Regions from separate parts of the Homo sapiens genome. Here region 2 is linked to region 1. The links are contacts of gene promoters, found by promoter capture Hi-C in blood cells and fetal thymus (Javierre and others, 2016). All regions are on one chromosome and are shown on one strand. The core of a region is centred on a gene start or on the middle of the fragment in contact, and the rest is flanking DNA. Distances in the headings are between cores, read along the strand shown.

What was found. Contacts are between HindIII fragments. The CHiCAGO score rates a contact against its expected background, and 5 or more counts as called.
Region 2: a contact is called between the fragment with the promoter of RNASE3 here and the fragment with the promoter of ZNF219 in region 1, in 3 of 17 cell types (M1 macrophages, M0 macrophages and megakaryocytes). The highest score is 7.5, in M1 macrophages.

What each region holds. Positions count from the first base shown.
Region 1 is chr14:21,095,183-21,100,596 of GRCh38, forward strand. It overlaps ZNF219 (zinc finger protein 219), which reads right to left and starts at 3,473. Exons shown (of 5, transcript NM_016423.3): 1 at 3,130-3,473. It also overlaps a transcript of TMEM253 not described here. RefSeq lists enhancers at 1,894-2,395, 3,155-3,655. The HindIII fragment of the contact is 7,101 bases long and covers 1,023-5,414 here.
Region 2 is chr14:20,889,512-20,894,737 of GRCh38, forward strand. RNASE3 (ribonuclease A family member 3) reads left to right here and starts at 1,874. Exons shown (of 2, transcript NM_002935.3): 1 at 1,874-1,940; 2 at 2,171-2,837. The coding sequence starts at 2,176. The coding sequence ends at 2,658. All of the region lies in intron 1 of LOC100507513 (a long non-coding RNA gene), which reads right to left. The HindIII fragment of the contact is 4,045 bases long and covers 1,840-5,226 here.

The DNA.
Region 1 (5,414 bases), core at 2,223-4,722:
CTGGGCTATAGGATTATTATTAGCAGATGATTAATTAACAAAGTGTCCTTGTCCAAGGGTCACTAGACGACCTCCACTACCACTTAATATGTGTATTTCTGTAGCTTCAAATTAGGGCACCCACTCTCATCCTCTGGATCCTTTCCTGGGACTAAGAGCCTAGCCAGGCTTACTGAATAGTGTCACAAAAGGTGAATTAGAATAGGACTGAAGGGTACAAGGCTATTGTAGGCCTAGTCTGAACATTGATAACCCTACAACCTTTACTAAATCACTTAACCTCCCAGTTTACTCATCAGTAAAATAAGGGGATTGGACTAATTTATAGTGTTAGTCCCTTCCTGCTCGAAAAAAGTTTGTGATTCTAAGTCACAGGACTCTTTTGGACCCCAGAGAGATGTTAAAACAAATGGTCATCCCTTCAGTACCATGGAGAGTGCAGTGGGCTACCACAGAAGCCACTTGGGCCACCTCAGTACCATAGATAGAGCTATGAGGTGCTAGAGGGGCTGTTTGCCATTTTAGCATCGCAGATACAACACAGAAAAGCTAGAGCATTTTTTTTTCGTTCCTATCTGAAAACCATAGAAAAAAACCCAGTGGTACCAGAGGGATTATTTTGGCCTTTTAGATGTCACTGAAAATAGAAAGAGCTAATAGAAAATAGATGTAACTAGAAGAATTTTAATTAGCTATAAGGAGCATCCTGACAGTTACAGTTTGTACATCCTGGAATGAGTTACTGAGGCATCATATTTGGGTCCATCACATTCTGTTGCTCTCCTGGGGATTCCCGGAACATCCTGGTGTACAGCCAATCTGGTATATTCAGAGGAAGCAGATGGTGGAGGCGTGGGGCGGGGGGGCTGGGAATACTGCATGGTCATAGCTGACTAACCTATGGGCACATACTCTCATTCTGAGAAGATTCTAGGGCCCCTAAAACTGTCTGTAGGATAGCAAGCAAAATCTCTTAGGAAGCTGGCCTCATATCTGAGGCAAGAAGAGTCAGAAAAGGGCAAAGCTTCCTATCCCAAAACAAAACAACAATAAACCACTTTGCACATAGCAGTTTCCAGAACAGAAATAGAGTGATATACAAGAAGGCCCAAACTGAAGCTGAATTCCCCAGCACGGAAAGTTTCCCCAGAAGGTGGCCTAAAATCAACAAAACTCACTGAGATACCTTCTTAGGCCCAATGAAGATCTGAATCATCTCCATATCAAACCAGGTTCCAGACACCTGATCCCATGATTTTTTTCTCAGTAGGGGAAAGAACTGACAGGGACTGGGATACTATGAACTGCCTTGGAACCGAGGTCATGCATATATTGCCCCTGGACAATAATCACAGAGTTTTCTATAGTCAGGCCTTAAACACCATCCTCGAGACTTGGCCAGACAGCAGCACTGACCTACTTTCCACCCCCACTGGGAATCAGGGGTTATCTTGCCCTTATTTGGATTCTATAAGGATGCGGGGCCAGGGATAGATATCAGAAACCTTTCAAAAGCAGTAGGCCAATTATCCTTACATGCTGGGGCAGCTGGTAGGGAAGTGGGTGTGGACCACTAAACCTTACTCAGTAGAGAAGGATGGAATGGTTGGTGAAAAGACTTAGAAACAACAAGGACAGGTACATAGAAGTATTTGCTAAATGGACCACAAAGACTGTCCCTCAAGTCTTGTGATTCAAAAGTTTTTAGGGTCAAAGTGTAAGGAGCAAGGGTTCAGGACTTCTGGGGTCCAGTTGTAACTGCCTCTGGTCACCTCTAACACGATGGTTTTCCCTCTTGAGAATCCTAGACCTCCCAAATCTGCTAACAATTATGATTACCACTGCACTAGATGGGGTTAAAAGGAAAGGGAGCTTCTAGGGCGGTCTACGTTCAAAAGACTACCTTGATCACACAGACACACCAGTAGTTCACTTTTATGGTCTCCTCTCCATGGCCCTCTGAACCTCACTGCTCAGATAGCTCCTCCTAACCCGCTCCACTCTGCAGCTCACCAGCCTTTTTAGACTGAGATCTTGGTAAAGCCTCCTTCCCTCTGTCCTCACTCTCCTGAGTTAGGGACATGGAACCTCAGCCATGGACTTCAAAGGTACAGCAGGAGGCGAGAGGAAGGCACACCTGCTCACCTGCTGCCATCCCACCATGGGGAATCTTATCCCAGAGGCATGTCCTAACGCAACCCCGATTTTGATTTTGAAAGTTCTGGAAGACCTGGGTTTGGGAAAGAGGGGCATGTAGCCAGCCCTAAGTCCCTTTAAGTGGAGCTGACCCTAGAAAAGTCAGTCTTAGCACCCACGTGAGCCTCGGTCCTCAGACTGGGAGGTAGGGGCGATCAAGGGAGCCTCTGGGAAAATCCCCCTCCCAGAAATAGATTGCTAAGTAGGGTAGGACCTGCTATCCTGCCGGAGAGGTTTTTCCAGCAGCACCCCAGACCCCTCCCCAGGAAGATAAGCCAGAAGGATGATGGGGGGCAGGGTTGGGAGATAGGGAGGCCAAGGCTCAGCTACCCCCGGCCAGGAGAACAAAAGCTGAGTTACAGCCGCCTCCGCTGCTGCCGCGGGCCGAGCTCTTTGTGACACTTTGTTTGGGACGCAAAGAGGGAAGCACCCCCCATCCTTTCCCCTCCCCCGCCACCCCGTGCTTCCAGAGAGTTTGGGCTCCTTCCCCCTCCCCCACCAGCCCTACCTGGGCCGGGGGTTGGGGGGTGCACATCCACTCAGGCTCGCGGCTCTGCCGCCCCTCACCCCCAGGTCCCTCGCGCCCTGCCTTCGGGCCCCTACAAAGACACCCGCCACCTCCCCCGCCACATCCCCCCCGTTGGCCCTTCCCTTTGGTGTCTGCTCCCCCAGCTCTTCCACCTGGCCCCCCCTCCCTTGGGGCCCCCCAGCTCTCCAGGCTTCCGAGGCCGCCACCCCCACCCCGCCCCCCCAGGAGCTCTGGGCGAAGTTTGCTTGGGGCCGAGCCGGCGCCCCTCCCCCGCCCCCGCCCCCTGCACCTGCTCCGAGCCGGGCGCGCTGAGCGGGCCCCCCCTCCGGGAGGGGGGAGGGGGCCGGGGGCGGGGGCCGGGTGGCGGACGGGGGGGCCCGGGAGTCGGGGGAGCGGCTACTCACGAGCCCCGGGCGGGCGGCGGCGGAGCGGGCGGCGGCGGCGGCGGCGGCGGCGGGCGGCGGGCCGGCGGCGCGGGCGTCAGCGTTACGTGGGGCCGGGGGAGATGCGCCGGGCCCCGGCCCCCCCGCCCCCGGCCCGGCCCCCGCCCCCTCCCCGGTCCCCCGCCCCCGGCCCTGGCCCGCATTGTGTGCGGCGGGAGGCGGCCCGGCCATTAGCATGCGGGGGGCGGCGCGGCGGGGCTGGGAGCCGCGCGGGAGCCGGGCTCTGGCTCCGGGGACAGGGAGCTGGGGACCCCGGGAGCCGCGAGAGGCGGCCGCCAGGGGCGGGGTGCGGGCGGTTTGGAGACGGGGGGCGCTGTCGGAGGGAGGGAGGAAGGGAGGGAGCGGGGGTGGGGCGCACAGAGGATTCCAACAGGAGACTGGAAGAGATTTTGAAAGGTCATCTCGTCCTTCCCCCAGCCTCCAAGCAGCACTGCCCCTCCCTCCCTAAACCCGGACATACCAGGGAAGGAGTTGGCTCTGCCGCTCTTTCTGCCCCAACATGCACAGACTCGGGAAGTTCTTCCTGGGGTTTTATCTCAAAGCCTCTCCCTTACAATTTCTGTCTCTCTTTTGGGGGAGGAGGAGGGGCGATTATAGAGATAGTTAATGTCGGCCGTATAAGAAACATTATTAAAGTTACTCTTCGGTCCTTTCCGTTCTTGATAAACAATTCCTGCGCCTTCCTCTCGAATTCTATTTTCCATTCCTCAAGTCACTTTAATGGCTCTTCAATACAACAAATATTTACTGAGTGCTTACTAAGTGCCAGGCACTGGGCTCAGCGCTGTGAGGGATGAGAAAGAAGTGGTACCTTCCTTCCAGGCGATTGTAGTCTAGACTACAAACTGGTAAGTAGTATACTCAGATTTAGTCAATATTTACTGAATGCCTGTTCACCTATCTAATAGTATATAATCTTTCCAATAACCCTCTATAATTAAATTAGCCCCCATTTACAAGTAAGAAAAATGAGGCTTCAGGAAGTCTGTTTCCCCAGTGGCCTGCAGGCTCGGGGATCCTCAGTGCAAGCCCAACATCTCACATCGCCACCAAATAAAATCAATGCACGTGGGAATTGAGGAGGAGTAGACACACAGCAGTTTTCTGGATCTCTTTAAAACGTGACTCCCACTCCCCGGGAAAGAAAAGAGTAGATACAATGACCCGCCGATGTTGGCACAGCACTGATGGGGCAGGAGTGGCTTACAAAAGATCACTTGCCTCCCAGGACCCTGCCTCCCTCCTCGTACTAACTTCTAGAGTCTTCTGGCGCAGTCTCCTCTTATCGTCAACAACAAGAAATAATAATAGTGATGATGATCATAGCCACTAACATTGAGCACTTGTGTACCAGGTACTGGGCTAAGCTCTCTTCCATGCTGAAAGCAACCCCTTGAGACTGGTATTATTAACTTCCTTTTATAGATAAGGGAACAGAGAGATTAAGCAACTTGCCAAGGGCACCTAGGTAGATCTGGGATTTGTTTTGATCTATAGAGTATATTTGGGCCCAGCTGGTTCTGCTTCCGACTGTAGAAATGTGTCCCCAGCTTCCTTCTGAATAACACTTTTAGTGTATGGGCATCAGACTTATCGGTGTGACCTCATCAGCACCACTAATAGTTATTAAACACCCACCCTGAATCAACAACTCTTCACAGTCATATTGTTAGCCCCCTTTTATCAGTGAATAAACTGAGGTGCGAATAGGTAGAAAAACATATCTATCAGGACAGACACAGTGGCCCACACCTGTAATCCCAGCAGTTTGGGAGGCCAAGCAGGGAGGATGGCTTGAGCCCAGGAGTTTGAGACCAGCTTAGGCAACATTGTGAGACGACCCTGTCTCTACAAAAAATTTAAAAATTAGCCAGGCATGGTGGCATGTGCCTGTGATCCCAGCTACTTGGGAGACTGAGGCAGGATGATTATTTGTGCCCAGAAGGTGTTGGCTACAGTGAGCCATGATCATGCCACTGCACTCCAGCCTGGGTGACAGTGAGCCCCTGTCTCAATAATATAATAATAATAATAATAATAATGTATCCAAGATCACACAGATGGAGAAGCAGCAGAGCTAAGATTCCAGCTCAGGTCTGTCTGGCTATGAGGCACCTTCTCTCTCAAAAATATTAATTGTTGCAATAGCATCCTTCCCAAGACTCACTATTTGAGGACCATGAGATAGATAGATAGATAGATAGATAATGTCCAGTTGCAGGTTATCATTGAATCAAAAACAATCC
Region 2 (5,226 bases), core at 624-3,123, 210 kb before region 1:
CAGAGAACAGCCCTGAGCTAGAGCCCCTTCCACAGACGCAGCTGTTACTCAGCTCTAATTGATACAACACCAATGGTGCACCAACCACCATCATGTGATTTTTAAAGATAAGACAGTAATGAAAACTTTTAGTGAACTATTCCAATGTCAAACTTTATCTTCCAAACCAAACATCATAAATAGCACTGTGTATGCTGAAAAGAAGCACTGTTTAGCCAAGTACCTGCCCTGGGGCTGCAGTCTATGTCTTTTGCCTCATACTATAGACACTTAAGTGCAAATGTTTCTAGCCAGTGTGGCTGTCAGCATCACAGAGGGGATACTCTACGTATCATTCACCTTTACATTCTCATCACCTACAAAAATGATCTCCACACAATATACATGAAAAAATAAACTTGCCTCATGATAAAGCTGCTAATGAATGTCGGCCAGAACAGGACTTCAAGGCAGAGCAATATTAGCTGCGCATTGAGTCCTCACCAGGTCACCATTGTGTCCACATTTACCTAAGGACCCCAGTGATAAAATTATTGCATTTCTAAATGACAGGAAAATTGGACGGTAGTAAAAATTAGGCAGATTAACTGTTGGAAGGTATATTATATCATTTAAGGGTCTACTTTCCATTTTCTAATCTCAAAGCTAGACCAGATTTAACATCTGTTAGTACCCAGGCCTTACCTTTGCAATTCACTTCTCACCTCTGTACAATTTCCCCACATCATCCCCTGTGCCCAGAATGCTCATCTCTTCTCTAAATCCCCTGAAAATCCCCTGCTTATCCTTTAGGACCTGCTGAAATAAACTTTTTTTTGAAGTTTTCCTTATTTCTCAAGCCAAGTGATTTCCTTCACCAGCAGTGTCCCTATGACACCATGTTCACACAAATGCTATTACCTCTATCACACTGTAATACAATTATATGTCTACAAGTACTTTCCTGTGTTTCTCTGAGGGCCAAGAATAAATGTATGCTTTGTGTATCAAACTGTACACTTGACCTCTATACTTTCAGGAATACAGTGCTCTGTCCTTAAATGTTCATTTGTAAATACAGAACCATATTCTTGTTAATATCACAAAATGAAACTTACCAGGAAGATGAATGACAACCCCAGAACACACTGTTTTGTAGAAAATACCATAGGCTGAAAAGATCACAGGAATACCGAGTGCTAGGTTGGAATCTTTCATGACACCAAATGTTCATTCATCCTCTGCCAGATTTTACAACTGTCCTCGGTGTGTTTTTAGGTTATGTAACTTTACACAAAGTGGAATCAATAATCAGGGCAAGACTTAAGAGAAAGTGGATCCAATGCAAGAGGAGTAAAGAAAAAAATTCCTCAATTGTATGGAGCAGATTGTTTTAATTATCTACAGAATCTTGTGCCCCAAGAAATTAATAGCTCAAGTTTCCAGCAAGAGTGGTGGATGAGATGGAGAGCATTTATGTGAGAGAGAACCAAGGATATTACTAAAAATGGAAGGGAAGCTGGGTTTCTCCTGGGCAAACAGCCCTCTGTGGCTCTATTTCTCCTAACTACTATGCCTGCCTTCGTGTCATTTAGTCATTTAGGGGCCTGCCAGAGGACAGTTATAAAATCTGTGGTCATTCTGCCGGCAGCGTATAGTTTTCACCCAGAGTCCAGATCCCACCGGCAAAACTCTGTCTAACACAGGATGACTTGGAATTAGAGTCCGTATAGCAGAAAGAGCAGCAGGGCTGTCCTTGGGTATCCGTTGCTCAGCCAAGTCATCAAATAAAAAGGATGATTGCACAAGTGGACCATGTGTCAATCTGTGGGTTTCTGCATGGCCAGACCCACCAAGGGAAGCTTTATTTAAACAGTTCCAAGTAGGGGAGACCAGCTGCCCCTGAACCCCAGAACAACCAGCTGGATCAGTTCTCACAGGAGCCACAGCTCAGAGACTGGGTAAGTCAACAATCCCCAGAGCTGGGACAGGAGGGGCAGCGACAGGGCAGCACCTGAGGGAGAGGTGAGCTGAAGTTAGTGCTTAGGAGATGTGGCACACTTTGGGGACAGGAAGAAAAGGAAATGCGACCCCAGAGTGGCAGCAGAGGGGCCTGTGGGTTGAGACACTATAGAGTGTGTCATAACCGAGACCGGATCGGGGAGTAGTTACTTCTCTTCTTTTCTTACAGGAAACATGGTTCCAAAACTGTTCACTTCCCAAATTTGTCTGCTTCTTCTGTTGGGGCTTATGGGTGTGGAGGGCTCACTCCATGCCAGACCCCCACAGTTTACGAGGGCTCAGTGGTTTGCCATCCAGCACATCAGTCTGAACCCCCCTCGATGCACCATTGCAATGCGGGCAATTAACAATTATCGATGGCGTTGCAAAAACCAAAATACTTTTCTTCGTACAACTTTTGCTAATGTAGTTAATGTTTGTGGTAACCAAAGTATACGCTGCCCTCATAACAGAACTCTCAACAATTGTCATCGGAGTAGATTCCGGGTGCCTTTACTCCACTGTGACCTCATAAATCCAGGTGCACAGAATATTTCAAACTGCACGTATGCAGACAGACCAGGAAGGAGGTTCTATGTAGTTGCATGTGACAACAGAGATCCACGGGATTCTCCACGGTATCCTGTGGTTCCAGTTCACCTGGATACCACCATCTAAGCTCCTGTATCAGCAGTCCTCATCATCACTCATCTGCCAAGCTCCTCAATCATAGCCAAGATCCCATCCCTCCATGTACTCTGGGTATCAGCAACTGTCCTCATCAGTCTCCATACCCCTTCAGCTTTCCTGAGCTGAAGTCCCTTGTGAACCCTGCAATAAACTGCTTTGCAAATTCATCTGGAAGTGTCTGTGTGTCTTCCTCGGCCGCTCTGCTGTCATTTAGTGACAATCTGCTCTAGAGATTTGGGTTTATCATGAATCTCTCCCCCTCAATATCTGACCAAATTCCTTAATTCCCCCATCATCCTTCATGTGATACCTGATTCCAGGCCTGCCTTAAAAAAAAATCCAATTGAGTCAACTTAGCATTGGTCTCCCTAGCCTTAATATCTCCTCTAAGCAATTTTCCATCCACTGACTCCTCCCCCAACACCAACCTATAACTTGTGTATAGATCTCCACTTGTTTTAGTTGTATTCCAGAATTGAGCCCAATTTGATATTGAGGTCCCATTTGATGCTTTATGGTCCGACTATGGTTTTTATTGACATGATTTCTATCCCAAGAAAAAAAGAGCTGCAGTGAATCAGCTGAAAATGCACGTGCTTCATTATGATTTATGAATGATAAATTTTGATAGAATTGAACGTTATGATAGAAAATAGAAAAGAAGAAAGTAGAAAAAGTCAAGAATGCTATAAATAAGGTGAAACCAAGATAAAGAAAAGTTTAGCCTCAGGGATATTTCTTTTAAATGGGCACATCAAGTCTCCAGCTATTAGCAATCGTAATAGAGGTGGAACCAGGGTTTGAGTCAAATGTGCAATAAGATAAATTGTTCCGACAGCAGTAAGGACAGATTGTAATGCTGACTGGAGGAGAGGTGGACATCTTTCCCAAAAGTTCCATGTCCTGGAGATGGGGAGCCGCTGGTCACGTGGGAAGGAGAAGGGGGAGGAGGAGGAGGAGGAAGTGGGAGCACTCATGAAGGTGAGTTGGCTCCTGCCCATTCTGCCCTCCATAGATGTTCCCAATGGCGAGTCAAAGGTTCATTCAACACCTGTCAGGAAGGGCACAGCCTCGAGAATTCAGGATTTGTAGACCCAGAGAGAGAAGAAATGGATGATGAGAGCCGCTGCCCTGGACTCCAACACAGGGCTTCACTCAGGAATCCATGAGAAACAGGGGAGAAAAAGGGGAAGCCCCTTCCTGCAAGTTGTGGACAGGTGCAGCATTCAAGTGATTGTTCCAGGAACAGAGTGGGTCTTTTTGAATGGCCCGACTCAGAATGCAAGAGAGGTACGATGCCATCAGATCTGCACCTTGGTCCTTCAGTCTGAGATTTCTGACTTCTATATTTCTCCTCCTCTTCCAGACCCTGAGAAACAGCAATTTCCATTCCTCAGATGACTCCATGTCAGTAATGGTGCTTTAATTGGCATCAGACAGCAGCTGTATTGAAGTCTCTCCTCTGGAGAAGCTATTGAGATCTTGCTTCTCCAAGGTCGGGCTGTGAACTTAAAAGTTTGCACAGAGACACTGAGTTTGGGAAATCTCAGTGCTCAACAGAATCCACTGACTCTAGGTAAAACAGGGCATGTCAGGAAGTGAGTGCAGTCTTCCCATAACCTCAGAGTAGCAGAAGGAGAAGGTGGGACTCTGAAAGCTGGAGCCACGTTTCCTGTGAAGAAAGATGGAGTGGACCTTCCTTGCTTCAGGTACCAGATCACAGGTCTCTTCTCAGTCGGGGATGCCTCATCTCTAAAACCACAGGATAGAGGGATCAGTCCCCACCTGCCCCCACACCCTCTCCACCTTGTGACTTCATCCTCTCTCGTCATTCATTCCTTCGTTCATTCATTCATCCAGCAGTCATCTACTGAGCAGATACCTTGCTCCAGGCACAGTTTGAGGGAGTGATGATGCAACACAAACCAAGACAGGTCCCTGCTCTTTTGAGGCCACATTATACAAGGATAAAAATAAACATACAAAATTGTTCTAAGCATACAAAATTTTGCTAAGTGTCAGGAGGAAAAATACACAGCATAGTACACAGAAAATTACACAGAGCAGCACAATATAGAGGTTCTGTATGTGCCACAAAAGTGACAGGGCAGAGTGTCACCAGGAAAGACTTATCTCAGAGAATGAAATCTGAACAGGAGGAAAAGCAGCCAGTCATGCAGACACCAGATGGAGAATCATCCCAGCAAAGAGAAAGAGAGTTCAAAAGTCCTGACAAATACCAAGGCTGTAAGAAGACTTTTCGTTCTGTGTTTACGATAAGTTGATTAAAACATCTGAAGGAGAATGACTACCATTATTCGCATCTTTGTATGTATTTATTCCTTAATGTAATAAAACATTTTCAGTTTTAAAAAATGGTCCTGAATGGATAGAGGTTTGGCGTGTTAGAAGCACAAAAGTTGTTTGGTCAGGACAAGATCATCATAGCCATGAGTGTTAATGATAGGAGTTAATGAGGTTCAGACCCTTCATGCCTGTGAAGATGGAAGAATAAAGTAAGTTCCTCATGGGGCACAAATCGAGCATGTTACATGC